Regions from separate parts of the Homo sapiens genome. Here region 2 is linked to region 1. Evidence: promoter capture Hi-C in 16 types of primary human blood cells and fetal thymus (Javierre and others, 2016). All regions are on one chromosome and are shown on one strand. The core of a region is centred on a gene start or on the middle of the fragment in contact, and the rest is flanking DNA. Distances in the headings are between cores, read along the strand shown. Region 1 holds the start of FOXE1 (forkhead box E1). Region 2 overlaps PTCSC2 (papillary thyroid carcinoma susceptibility candidate 2).

Evidence for each region. The method cuts DNA at HindIII sites, captures the fragments that hold promoters and counts their contacts. A CHiCAGO score of 5 or more calls a contact.
Region 2: a fragment that was not itself captured here is called in contact with the fragment with the promoter of FOXE1 in region 1 in 1 of 17 cell types (endothelial precursors); the score reaches 6.1 in endothelial precursors.

The regions. Positions count from the first base shown.
Region 1 is chr9:97,848,573-97,854,581 of GRCh38, reverse strand. It overlaps FOXE1 (forkhead box E1), which reads right to left and starts at 1,356. Exons shown (of 1, transcript NM_004473.4): 1 at 1-1,356. The coding sequence starts at 667. PTCSC2 (papillary thyroid carcinoma susceptibility candidate 2) reads left to right here and starts at 1,502. Exons shown (of 11, transcript NR_147055.1): 1 at 1,502-1,666. RefSeq lists an enhancer at 2,388-2,889. The HindIII fragment of the contact is 6,931 bases long and covers 1-3,288 here.
Region 2 is chr9:97,746,671-97,753,114 of GRCh38, reverse strand. All of the region lies in intron 5 of PTCSC2 (papillary thyroid carcinoma susceptibility candidate 2), which reads left to right. Among named protein-coding and RNA genes, the nearest start is that of XPA, 53 kb to the right of the region's middle. The HindIII fragment of the contact is 932 bases long and covers 4,206-5,137 here.

The sequences.
Region 1 (6,009 bases), core at 107-2,606:
CGCGGCAAGGGCCGGGCGACGCCGCGGGGTAGTAGACTGGAGGCGGCGCGGCCAGCGACGGCGGCGCGTAGCCTGCATAGACGGCGCCCGGGTAGGGGGGGCGCGCGGCGGGCACCGCGCCTGGGAAGATGGCGGCGGCGGCGGCGGCGGCGGCGGCGGCGGCTGCGGCAGCCGCCGCGTCGTGCATGTAAGCCGGGTAGGTGGAGAGGTCCGAGCGCTTGAAGCGCTTGCGGCGGCGCAGGAAGCTGCCGCTCTCGAACATGTCCTCCGCGTTGGGGTCAAGCGCCCAGTAGTTGCCCTTACCCGGGCGGCCGGCCTCGCGCGGGATCTTGAGGAAGCAGTCGTTGAGTGTGAGGTTGTGGCGGATGCTGTTCTGCCACTTTTTGGGGTTGTCGCGGTAGAAGGGGAAGCGCTCGGTGATGAACTTGTAGATGCCGCCCAGCGTGAGGCGGCGCTCGGGCGCGTGCGCGATGGCCATGGCGATGAGCGCGATGTAGCTGTAGGGCGGCTTCCCGCGCTGCAGGGGGCGCTTGCGGCGCCGCCCGCCCGCCCCGCGGCCCGTGGCCTCCCCTGGGACCCCGGCCCCTGCTGCCGTCTCGCCGCGCTCTTCCTTCACGGTAGCCAGCACCTCCGGCTGCGGCGGCGGCGGCCCGCTCTCGGCAGTCATGGCGCGGGCGTCCCGCACCCCCGGGCTCTGGATCCCCGCGGCTGTCGGGGGGCGGGGGCGGGCCTGGCGTCCCCGGAACGGACGCTCGGCCCTTCTGCGGAGAGCTCAGGGGATCGTCGCGGGCTGGCCCCGAGAGCCCAGCGGCCCAGGCTGGCACGCGCTGGAGGCTCAGCGTCCGTGGTCTGGGGCTGGCGCGGTGCAGACAGAGGCTCGGGAGTGACCCGCTAGCCGACGGCTCAGCCCGCGTGGTGCTTCTCGAGGCGGGCAGCGGCGGTGGCCTCGTGACCGGGACTGGACTCTGGTCTCCGGCTGAAGGGTCCCTTGCGCGCTGGTGCCGGGCGGTCGAGGGGTCCGGAAGTGATCCCTGGGTTGGGGTGGCTGCAGCTGGTCTGTGGTGCCCGCTAGTTTAGGATTACTGCCTAGGTTGTGCGCGCAGAAGAGGCTTCGGGCTCGAAGGCCAGAGCGAGGGCAGTTAGTACTGGCGCTGGGCGATCTGGCGGGGGCCGCCCATGCCCTGCCCCCGAGGCCAAGGTGGCCGTAAGCGCCACGGGCAGAGAGGCGAGGCGGGGGCAGCGAGGTCGGGGCGCGGGCCCAGGCGGGGCGACCTGAGGCTGGTCCTCTCCACGGCGTGGGTCTCCAGCCCTGCGGACCGCTGGCGAGGCGCTCCCCTGCACACACCGGACCGGCTCCTCCCTCCGCCGGCTTCCCCTCCTTAAAGGGGCCACGAAGCGTGGGGCGGCACCGGTTCCCTGCCCGCCCCCCGACTGCCCGCCCCCCGGGGCCCGGGCGCACCTCCCCAGGTAGGAGCAGCTGTGGCGGCGCGGTAGGAGCCCCACAGCGTCAGGGCGGGGAGGGCGCTTGGAGATCCCCCGGGTCGGCCCCCTCCGCACCCCGATCGACTGAGGCCCGGAGAGTTCAGGAACCGGCTCGGGAGACCTCAGCGCCCGAACTCGGAGTTTTCGGACTTTTCAGGCCTCTGCCAAGGGCTTGGACTCGCAGGTGAAAGGACGGGCTCATCTCACTTTTTTGTCCTGAGAGGGTGAGAATTGGCCGAGAGGGCGCTTGGTTTTTGTGGGAATGGGGAGGGAGAAGTTCCAGGAGACTGGCTCCCCGGGCCTTTCAGGATGGTTTCCAAACCCCAATCGTGGCTGCCACAGCCACTCGGCACTCCAGTCCCCCCATCTTTCGAATGAGTATTCCTAGGCCCGAAAGGGAAGGTGACTTGCCATGGCCCCACTGCGGCTTCTCCGCTTAGCGGAGTCTCCAACCTGCGTCTCCTTTAGGACTGCGCTTCCCAACTGTGTGGTAGAGGTAGCCGCTTTCCCTTTTTGGGCCCCAGGTCCCTCGACTGTACCGGGGTCTGGATCTCTCAAGAGTCCTTGCGTGGTAGATATTTAGGGATAGGCCAATCACCACCCCCAATCATCCGTCTTTGAGAGGCCCAGGATCTGTCTCTATTTGATGGATAGTGGTGCACGGATTAAAGACGACGCAGGATAGGTAACCTCCTCCTCCAATCCCCCGGGACCAGGGTAGCTCTGAAGACCCCCAGAGGCAGCCAAGCAGCCCCTTCCCGCAGCGGGGAGTGAGGGCTGCGGGTAATGGGGGAGTGGGAAGAGAGCGGTGGCCGGGTGGGCGCGTCTCCGGGGGAAGGGGCGGGCAGTCGGGACACGTTTGCTTCATGGGTGTCCAATTTCTGAGTTCCTTTCCTGCTGTCCCTGAGCCGGAACTTGGTCCTAACCTGAGATCCTCGCGGCGCGGCCCCTCTGGCCCGGGTTCGTTCCCTGGCCATTCACTGGGAGATCCAGGGCCTGTCCTTGTCCCCTCGCAGGGCCTCAGTGTTCTACTCTGTTAAATAGCAGCTGGAGGGCGTGTGCTGATCTCCGAGGCCCCTGCTACGTATAGGATTCCGGGCCTTGGCGCGGGTTCCAGTGGCTCCAGCCCGGACGCAGCTTTCCGGGGTGGGGGGGGGGGGCGGGCCGGGGCTGTGGGTGCAGAGCCGCGCGGATGGTGGTGCCAGGTGAGTGTGGGAGATCCCAAGACGAGAGTTCTGGCCAGTAACGGGTGGCATGCCTTCCAGGGTTTTAGTCGCGTTCTTCGTGGCGGTGAGCTGAGGGCAGGCTAAGCCCGGCCAAGCGTTGGGCAGCTGCCTTCGGAAGAGCGAGGCAAAGCCCAGATCCTTGCTCCGTCGACCCGGTGTGTGGAAACGCTCAAAGCGTTTGCTTGACAACCTTCTGCGGCAGAGGGTTGGTCGAACGAAGGGAGAGGGGCTTTACACTCGCTAAACAAAACTCCTGGTTTCCTTCTTCCCAAGTAATGGAGAAGCAAAAAACCCAGATTTCGTCCTGTTTCGTTTTTACAAAGGAGGAAAAACTTCAAATTTTAAAATTTTTAACTGGATTATATTATAGGCACCTTTTAATACGGGATTTCGTGGCTCTCAGTAACTTTCAAGATTCTGAGATTCAGATATCTAGATTTTAAATTCTGGACGACCGTTGTCCTAACGTGATTCCATAAATCTAAAGAATGCGATCCTGCGATCCTGCGACCCTGTAATTCTAAGATTCCAAGACTGGGAGTCTAACTTTGACTATGCTTATATTCCTTTGACTTAAGCTTCTAGTCAAAGTCTAAAAACCTATGTATTAAGATACTGGGACTAAACCAGGCACGGTGGCGGGAGCCTGTAGTCCCAGCTACTGGAGGTTAAGGCAGGAAGATCGCTTGAGCCCAGGAGTTCCAGGCTGTAGTGCACAATCATTGTGCCTGTGAGTAGCCACAGCACTCCAGCCTGTGCAGCAAAGGGAGACCCGGTCTCTTAAAAGCAAAACAAAACAAACAAAAAACGGGGACCTAAGATTTTGTGCCTGAAAATATGATGCCACTCTTGAAGCTGCCACTTCTCCAGTTTTTTATTTTTTCCACTCTAAGTTATATATTATTTAATTTGAATTCCTGTTTAGGAATGTCTGATTGGAAGAATTTGAATCCTGTAAATCCGCAGTTCTCTCCTTCCTTAATTCTAAAATGTTAGTGCTGGATCTGCTATTCTGTAGTTCAAATAATCTGATTCCAATAATTCTTCTAATGTTTGTGATTATATGCTGTAATGATTAGTCCCATGACTTTATGATCCTCTACTTTTAAGCTGCAACGACTATGGCTAAAAGCCTTCTTGTCTCAGGATTTTCTGTTCTTCAGTGTCTTGTGTCTGTGACCTCATTCTTCTAGAATTCTGATGGTTTTCTCAAACTTTGTTAATATCAAGCTACTCCTGTGGCCGAGACCAAATACCTAGCATCATGAGATTAGAATTTCCAAGATCATGATTCTAAGATTTTCGCAAACCAAGGACCCCTAAATTTCTATTTCATAAATGTTCTCTTTGAATAATGCATTTGAAGATTCTGTGAGTCCACAGTGAGTTCACATTAAATGATTTGGTGAGTACACAGGTCACAAGTTTACCCGTTTGGATCAAAACCATACACAAAAATCTCCTCGGGGCATTTCCTATCTCTTCCCATTGCTTCCTTCTCAGTTTCTTGAGAAGGAACATGGTCATGGCCAAGTCCTCCCCTCTTCTCTGCCACAGTGCTCCTTAACGTTTATGAATCATCTGGAAGTTAGGAAGGGCAGGTTCCAGACCCTTGGAAATCATTCTCCCAATCCAGCAGGGGTGGGTTGGTGTTGATGTGGGCAGGCCAGTGATTTCTGCTTCCCACTGATCTTCAGCCCTTCAAGTATTCCCAGCACCCCTGGAGAAGCCAGCCTGCAGCAGGCCATTTTATGTGCATAGGGGGCTGGAGGTGCTATTGGGAATCTTTAGAAGATGTTCTTCTGCAACAGCTGCTTTCCTCAGTTTTGAATGGGCGACTTTGTAAATAAAAACGAGAGGGGTCCAAGGAGTCAAGGAAAATTCCTCCAGATTCCTTGACGGAGATTCCCCTGCATGCAGACGCAGAGGTAACCAGTTCTTCTATTAAAGAAACCATGGAAATTCAAGCTGGAAGGAGACTGGGCCTGGATTGTGGAAGGGACTTGTAGAGAGAAAAGCCTTGGGCTGAGAAGGAAACTCAGGTCTTTGGGCCTTACTCTTTGGCCCCAAAGCCTCTCTGTCTTTTCTTGAGTTCTCAGAGCCTTACTTGTACTTAATTCTTTGGCCTGGGCTGCCCTTTTTACTGAACAACAAAACTCCAGGCGTCCACACTTGCAAATCTGATCCAAGGATCTCCTTACAGCAGCATCGCAGTGACCTGTTTAGGTTACTCCAGTGCATTCTGTCTGGGTCAGTGGGCTGTATGGCCCTAGAGAGCATCAGAGCAAGACACTGTCACAAAAGGGGGCCCCCAAGTCACACTCGTCCTGCTGACCACAGAAGACATCCATGTAAGGCAGCACCAGTGTTGTGAGGGTTTCCACCCAAGATTGCTCAAGACCCACCCAGCGACTTTAAACCATCCACTGCCCTTCTTAGGCCTCAGTTTCTCTATCTGTGAAGTGTGTATGTGGGGATATCCCATATCTGTGCTTTCTCTTCCACCGAGTCAAGGTGATAAAGTGGAGCGCCTTACAGACGCGCGGTCCTCTTCTTCCTCTTTTAAATTGTTTTAAGGCGAAACTTGGACATGGAAAAAAGACGCTGGGGATAATTCTAGCCTGTTCCACTCACAGGCCGCGATGAGATGCGCACACCCCCACCCACCGCCCCTCTCCACGGAAGAAGTAGCGGTTGATTAAAGTGTAACATTTTCTGCGGTCTAGCGGGGGATTTTGAGTCTCCGAGGCTCCCGCGGGCGTGGACCCTTTCGGTTTCCCAGAGCTCGGCAAGCGCTCTCTCCCTTTAAGTTGGTCCACTTAAACACTATGAACAGCGAATCACTGTCACCCAGGGGACAGGATGGAGGAACTGGGGCCCAGGAAGGGGAACCTTCTGCTTCCCACCTCCCCGTTTGCTTAGATCCCGCCACCAACGTTTCTTACGTAGGTAAGAAGCACCTAGCCTTTCTTACCCCGCTCCCCGCAAGCCCTCCCACAGAGCCCTCTCCCAACCCAGTCTGCGCGGGCCCGGGACACTCAGTGTTCTCAGAGCAGCGGGGAGCGCAGGAGCCGGCTTGGAGGTCCAGCAGCTTTACGGCCACAACGAGAAGGGGAAGTCGGCTCCGGACGGCGCGGACTTGTCCCACTGCGCACAACGAATCGGGGACAGAGTCAAGCCAGACCCTGCTCCCGCTCTAGGTTGGCTCCACGCGCTTTCCCTGCGTTCCGGACCCGAGGACCACGAAGCGCAAGCCACTACCCGCGTCTGATCCGACCCAGGCGGGCGGGCGGGAGTTCAG
Region 2 (6,444 bases), core at 3,422-5,921, 100 kb after region 1:
AGGTTTTTGAAATGAAAACAAAGAAAATAAATTACATTTGCTGCACAGACTGGTTGTTAGCCACTACCAAAGAAATATCAAAGCCAATGAGAATTTGCCCCTGCTTTATAGTTCTAATACATCAAACTGTCTAAAGGAGGCCTTCAGTTCTCAGATCTAGTTGACATCCCTCCATGTTGATCTAACAATCAGGAGGGTGGAGCAGGATATTTATCGCAATGGGCCCATTGCACAGAGGAGGGAGCTGAGGCACAGATCATAGCACCCCATCATCTCATTGTACAGATGGGGAGACTTAGGCCTAGAGAGAGGGAAGATTTGCCCTTGGTTATATAGCAGATAAAGGGGCCAATCCAGGGCTAGAACTCCTGCGTCCCCATCCTTAAAACTATCTTGGCTGCTGTTTCAGGGCAGCTGCAGACAAAGCTTAAATTTGAACTATGCAGGAAGGCAAAGGAGAGTAGTTTTCATCTTGCCCCCACCCCCTTCTCACCTTTGAGTTAAGCAATGAAGCTGAAAAGATCCTTCAACAAACAAATCCCTCCTCATTATAGAATCCACAGGCACATCAGCTCTTAGGAAACCTGAAAGGCAAGCTCCTGAGGAGGGAGGGCTGTTCATACATGCCTGTCCAGGTGCCCTCTTCCCTGCTCACTCTCAAGAAGACAGAATGTCTGTTTCAGGAGCAGCAGTGCGGTGGACATTCAGGTTCCCAGACCACCATGATAGAATAGGCTAGGGGTTGTGGGAGCAGTGAGGTTCCAAGAGCCGGCTTCCAGGAAGGCACACTGGCCAAGGCATAGTCTATACTTCCCTATTCCAAAGTTGGATTCTTTCTGGATGTTAGAAAATGCTCCAAAGTACTCCCGTTGATGGGAAAAGGCATTTGTGGAGTCAGGCCCATGTGGTGATCAGATAAAGAACGTTCCCAGGCCAATGGATGAATCCAGAAAAAGATGAGCCCTTTTTCCTTCAAAAGAAAAGTGCAGCTCCACTGTCCCTTTTAAACTACGAGAAAACTGGATTAGTGGGATATAGTTTTGCTCATGAAATTGGGGCCAGGAATTCTGGGCAAGGTTTGGCTGCGCCAAGAGATGGAATTGCCTTAGAGAAGGAAAATGCAGAGAAAAGATCCCACTTAAGCATCTTATTTGAGGGATATAGAATAGTTTCTCCATTTGCATAAATAAAATATTAAAGCTTTTTGTTCAGGAAACCTATATCTCAGAGGAAAAGAATGCAATAATTCCAGTAATTAACAATTCCCCCAAGAAGTGTGGTTTGCATCATACATGATCTTCTCATTTTGATCCTCTTGGTTCCCAGAAAATGCAATGTTCTTTCTCCAGGGCCCCATGAAGGAGAGATGGCATTGACAAGAAGACTTTGCATACCTATGATGTCAGAGTCCAAAGTTTCAACTCTTGGTTGATCAGCTTTTAAGATTAGAAAACACAACATGGTGTAGGAAAAGATTCTGGGCATTGCTGTACATCATCCTGGGCTTAAATCCTGGTCCTACTTGGTAGCTGCATGGCTGAACTTTGAAGAATTGGTTAGCCTCTCTGACCCTTTGGTTTCTCCTCTTTAACTACGGTAATAACTCCTACTTAATGGTATTGTTGGGATAGCTACCATCAGGTTCCATGGTACAGTGGGTGCTCAGAAGGTATTCTTGCTGAATATCTCTTGAATATCTTCTCTCTAATTTGCTTGTAAGGAGTCCTGTTTTGCAGGAATATGTGTTGATTAAGAATTTCTTTTAATTTTCCTCAGATAAATAAGAACTTCTTTCTGTCTGCTTTCTTTTTACAACTGCTGTATGGAGCTATGGAAAAGTTTCTTTTAATGACAGCTTTTAAGACCTTCAGCAGATTAGCACTTTCGATTCTGATTAAGCTAATCACAGTGCAGTTTACTGCTATTTTGTAGCAATTACCACCATTTTAATTGGCTAATTAATTGGGAAATAAATTGTTTAATGATGATCTGTTTTACCAGAATGTAAGCTTTATGAAGGCATGAACAGTAGGGACAGAATCTGTCATGTTTACTGCCATACTCCTCATACCAGCCATGTGTATGTGTGTGTATACACACATATATATTAAGCACAATATAAGTGTTGCTGTTACTTTTTGGTAGCAAATATTTATCCTTTGAGGGTGCAATCATTTTTGGAAGTAGCCAAAAGATAATCCCAGCCCTGTAAATGATCAAGCTGAGAAAGAGGGTTTTTGGTAAAAATCAAATATTTTATGTATTCATTTCCCCCCCCCCACCTTTTTTGTTGTTGTTGTTGAGACAGAATCTTGCTCTGTTTCCCAGGCTGCAATGCAGCGATGTGATCAGCTCACTGTAACTCAAAACTCCTGGGCTCAAGTGATCCTCCTGCCTCAGCCTCCCAAGTAGCTGGAACTGCAGGCACGCACCACCACGTCCGGTTAATTATTATTATTATTATTATTATTTTGGAGATGGGATCATGCTATGTTGCTCAGGCTATGTAGAACTCCTGACCTCAAGTGATTCTCCTGCCTCAGCCTCCCGAAGTGCTGGGATTATAGGTCTGAGCCACCAGGCCCTGCCTTCCTTCACTTACCAATATTTCTTTAGTCCTAAGTGCTGGGAGCTGGGAAGCCAAGCATGAACCTTGCTCTCAAAGGGCCTCTGGCCAGGCTGAGAAGACAGACAGACATATCAACAACTGCAGGAAAGGCCAGACAGAGCCTTGGAGCTGGAGGCAGGGGGCAGGACACTTGGATTCTAGTTCCAGCTGTGCTTTGAACTTGCTTTGTGGCCTTGAATAAGTCCTTCTCCTCTCTAGGCCTGTGTGTTGGGGGAATTAGACTGATGTGAAACATCTAGCTTTGTGGTCCTGGGATCTTGAGATTACTTTCAATAAGACAGTGCTCCTTCCAGCAGTTTCCATCTCTTGAATCCTGTGCGGCCTCTACAGGAAGGTGTGTGAATTCTGTCTGCTGAGAGCTTTCCAAAATGCCAGCCCTGCCAGCCTGCCTGGAGTGAAAAGGCCGTTCTTGGCCATGGTGCCTCCCCTCCTTGGCTGTGCAACCTGAGAACACCTGCTACTCTCTGGGTCTCAGAACCTCACATGTACAACAAAGAGGCTCTGCACAGAGGTCTCCAGGCTTCCTTCACGGCCTCCATCCTGTGCTCTCAGGTTGTCAGGACAAGAGCTGATATTTTTCAGGGCAGCACTTCACAAACTGTGTTCAGTGAAACATTTGTATTCTGTGGGACAGGAATAGGATTCAGCAAACAAAAAGTAGTGGTGGGAAGGGAGTTGTTCCAGCCTCAAATAAGTGTGGAAGATGCTTACTTTTTTTTTTTTTAATGGAGTCTCGCTCTGTCACCCAGGCTGGAGTGCGGTGGAGTGATCTCCGCTCACTGCAACCTCTGTCTCCCAGGTTTGAGCAATTCTCCTGCCTCAGCCTCCCAGGCAGCTGGGATTGCAGGTACCCGCCACCACACACAGCTATTTTTTGTATTTGTAGTAGAGATGGGGTTTCACCATATTGGTCAAGCTGGTCTCAAACTCCTGACCTTGTGATCCACCTGCCTTGGTCTTCCAAAGTGCTGGGATTACAGGCGTGAGCCACCGCACCTGGCCAATGCTTAGTTAAATTTAGACAAGAATCCTCAGGATGTTCAGCATGCTAATGACATTTTGAATTTCCTCGAGGAACAATGCAGTAGACAGAAAGGTAGACTTGCAAAGTGGCAAAATGCACAAGATGAGTTTGGAATCCTGGTTGCACTACTGCCTAGCTGTGCAACCACAGGGAAGTTCATTAGCCTCTGTGAGCTGCAGTTTCCTCACAGTTCAGAGGAAAATATGGACCCTGCCTTTTAGGGATATTATCAGGATGAAAGACAACATTGCATGTAAGATGCTATGGGCATTGTTATTATGTATTGCCCATGGGGTTTTTTGTGGGAGGAATAGCTATAAGCATCTCTCAGGATTGTAGTATTCCACAAACACAGTTTGGGAAGGGCTGAGCCATCTGTGTGTTCCAAACACTGCTGTTTTTTTACTCTGACGTTGCAAGACTTCAGTGAACATCTGTTCTGCCTCTTCATCCAGTTGAATTGATTGTGAAGTCCCAGGGTGCAATGGGGACACAGTTTAGGCACCAAGTACAGGGTTCTTAAAACTCAGGTGAGCCCAGGCCCTTAAAGCTTAGGTGGATAAGCAGGTGTGGCTCAACAGGGGTATCTGAGAAGGAGTTTAAAGGATGAGCCTGGAGAGATGGCCTTGGGAAGGTCATTATGCCAGGAGGAGGAATTTGGGCTTTACCCTGGGGCAACAGGGATTGTGCTGCATGTGCCTGGAGGCCCTGCCTTCTGCTCCACTTTGTCACACATCCTCTGACCTGGGCATCCAGGGCTGGTCCAAGTGGGTGGCAGGTAGACCAGGAGGCATTAGTGAGATGCTGGCTTCCCTCTCAGCATGGAGCCTGGGACATGTCACTCACCCCTCTTTGTCTTAGCCTCCACATCCATAAAATGAGAGGCATCACGACTCCTGGGCAGCCTGACCCACAGGGCTGTTGTGAAGGTTCAGGGAGATAAAGTATTTCAACGAGCACATTAAGTTGAGATCCTAGTATGTGCCACGCCTTGTATTTAGGCCTGGGGGAGACTGAGATGAACAACACATGATCCCTGCCCTTGAAGGCTCACAAGCTGCTGAGTTTGGTACACTGAAGTAAGTGCTAAGATAAAGATAAGCCCATGAAAGGGACCTTCACCCAATGTAGGGAGTGGAAAGGCTGATGAGGGGAAGGAGACATTTAGGAATCTTCCCGGGAGGAGGTGATGTCTCTGCTGAGTTCTGAGATACACCTGGTAGTTAGTGGATGAAGAAGGAAGAAATAAGTTTCCAGGCAGAGGAAACAGCATGAGGAAAGTCAAAGAAAAATGAAATGTCACAGTCCATCTGTGCAAATGAGTAGCAAGCAGTATTATTAGGACTTTAAATTTGAGGTATGGAAGAAGATGTAATGGACACCATTGGTGGCGACATTGTTTGCATTTAGACAGACAACACATTCAAAAGCTAAGGAAGTGAAGCTCTAACTGGACAACTCCAGTAATTAGCTTGTATAAAGCTTTTTTGTTTTCCCTGAAATTGCACCATGGTCTCTTTGCTATCTGTGATAGGTTACCTCGGTGGTGTTGGGCAGACTGCAGGCCTTGAATGCCAGGCTGAAGGGTTTGCTCTATAGCTTGCAGACTAATGGAAGAATTAGCCATAAAAGCCAGGGGATTTAGAATGGAATCCTTGGCATTCTCTGCATGTGTGGGGCTGGCTAGGCAAGGAGGTTCCCAGAAGAAAAACAGAGCAACCTTTGCCCTCCTTCTGTACTTAGGTGAAAAGCAGAATTAGAATGGGGCTGACTGAGTGATGTGGTTATTGTGCCTTCCTTTTGGGCTTCAGTATCCAATCTGCCCTAGTGCAGGGGGCTTAAGGCATGCCACTCGGGAGGCCAGATGATAAGCCCCAGCCACGGCCTAGGCTTTGGGGAGCTACTGCACACAAACAAGCCTGTGCCAGGGAATTAGTACTGTTGTTATTAAGAGAAAGAGGCTTGGCTGTAGCTCTCCAGCTGAGAACATGCACTGTCCAGGCTGCCACCACTGCAGGGAGAGTCTCTCATCCTGCTCCTCCAGGACACCCCCCATCACTGCCTTGGCCTCTGTGCTTGACAGATGAAACCTCCCATTGGGAGGCCCCTAAGGTGAACAGAGGCAAGGGCTGGGAGACAGGAGGTTAGGGACTCTGCCCCTAACCTACTGTGTAACCTTGGGTGAGTCCATTCACTTCTCTGAGCCTTTCTAGAAAGACTTTCTCACATTTCCGGAATGAAGAAAGTCCAACCCTGTGTAGGGCCAAGGGCAGATAATGAGCATTAGATAAGATAATGTGTGTGGAAGGGCTTTGCAGTGGAAGAGGTATTATTATCTTTATTAAAAGAGGCAGCAGGGGAGAGTAGAACAATGATTGGAAATGTGAATTAAATGTGCTGCCTTGTTATTTGGTAATCTTAAGAAATTTTACAAAGTTTTAAGGCACAACAATGGTATTTTAGTTACGTTTTTAAAATTGGCTTTGTCTTGTAAAGGCACATACTGAAGTATTTATGGACAAAACTATATGATGTCTGAGATATGCTTCAAAATAAGGAAAGGGTGAAATGGATGTGGATTAGGATGAAATAAGACTGGCCAAGAGCTGATCAATGAAGCTGGGTGACAGGTGAGTGAGGGTTGGTTACACTATTCTGTCTAATCTTCTATATGCTTAATTTTCCCATAATAAAAAGTTAAATCGGCTGGGTGCGGTGGCTCACACCTGTAATCCCAGCATTTTGGGAGGCCGAGGTGGGTGGATCACCTGAGTCAGATGTTTGAGACCAG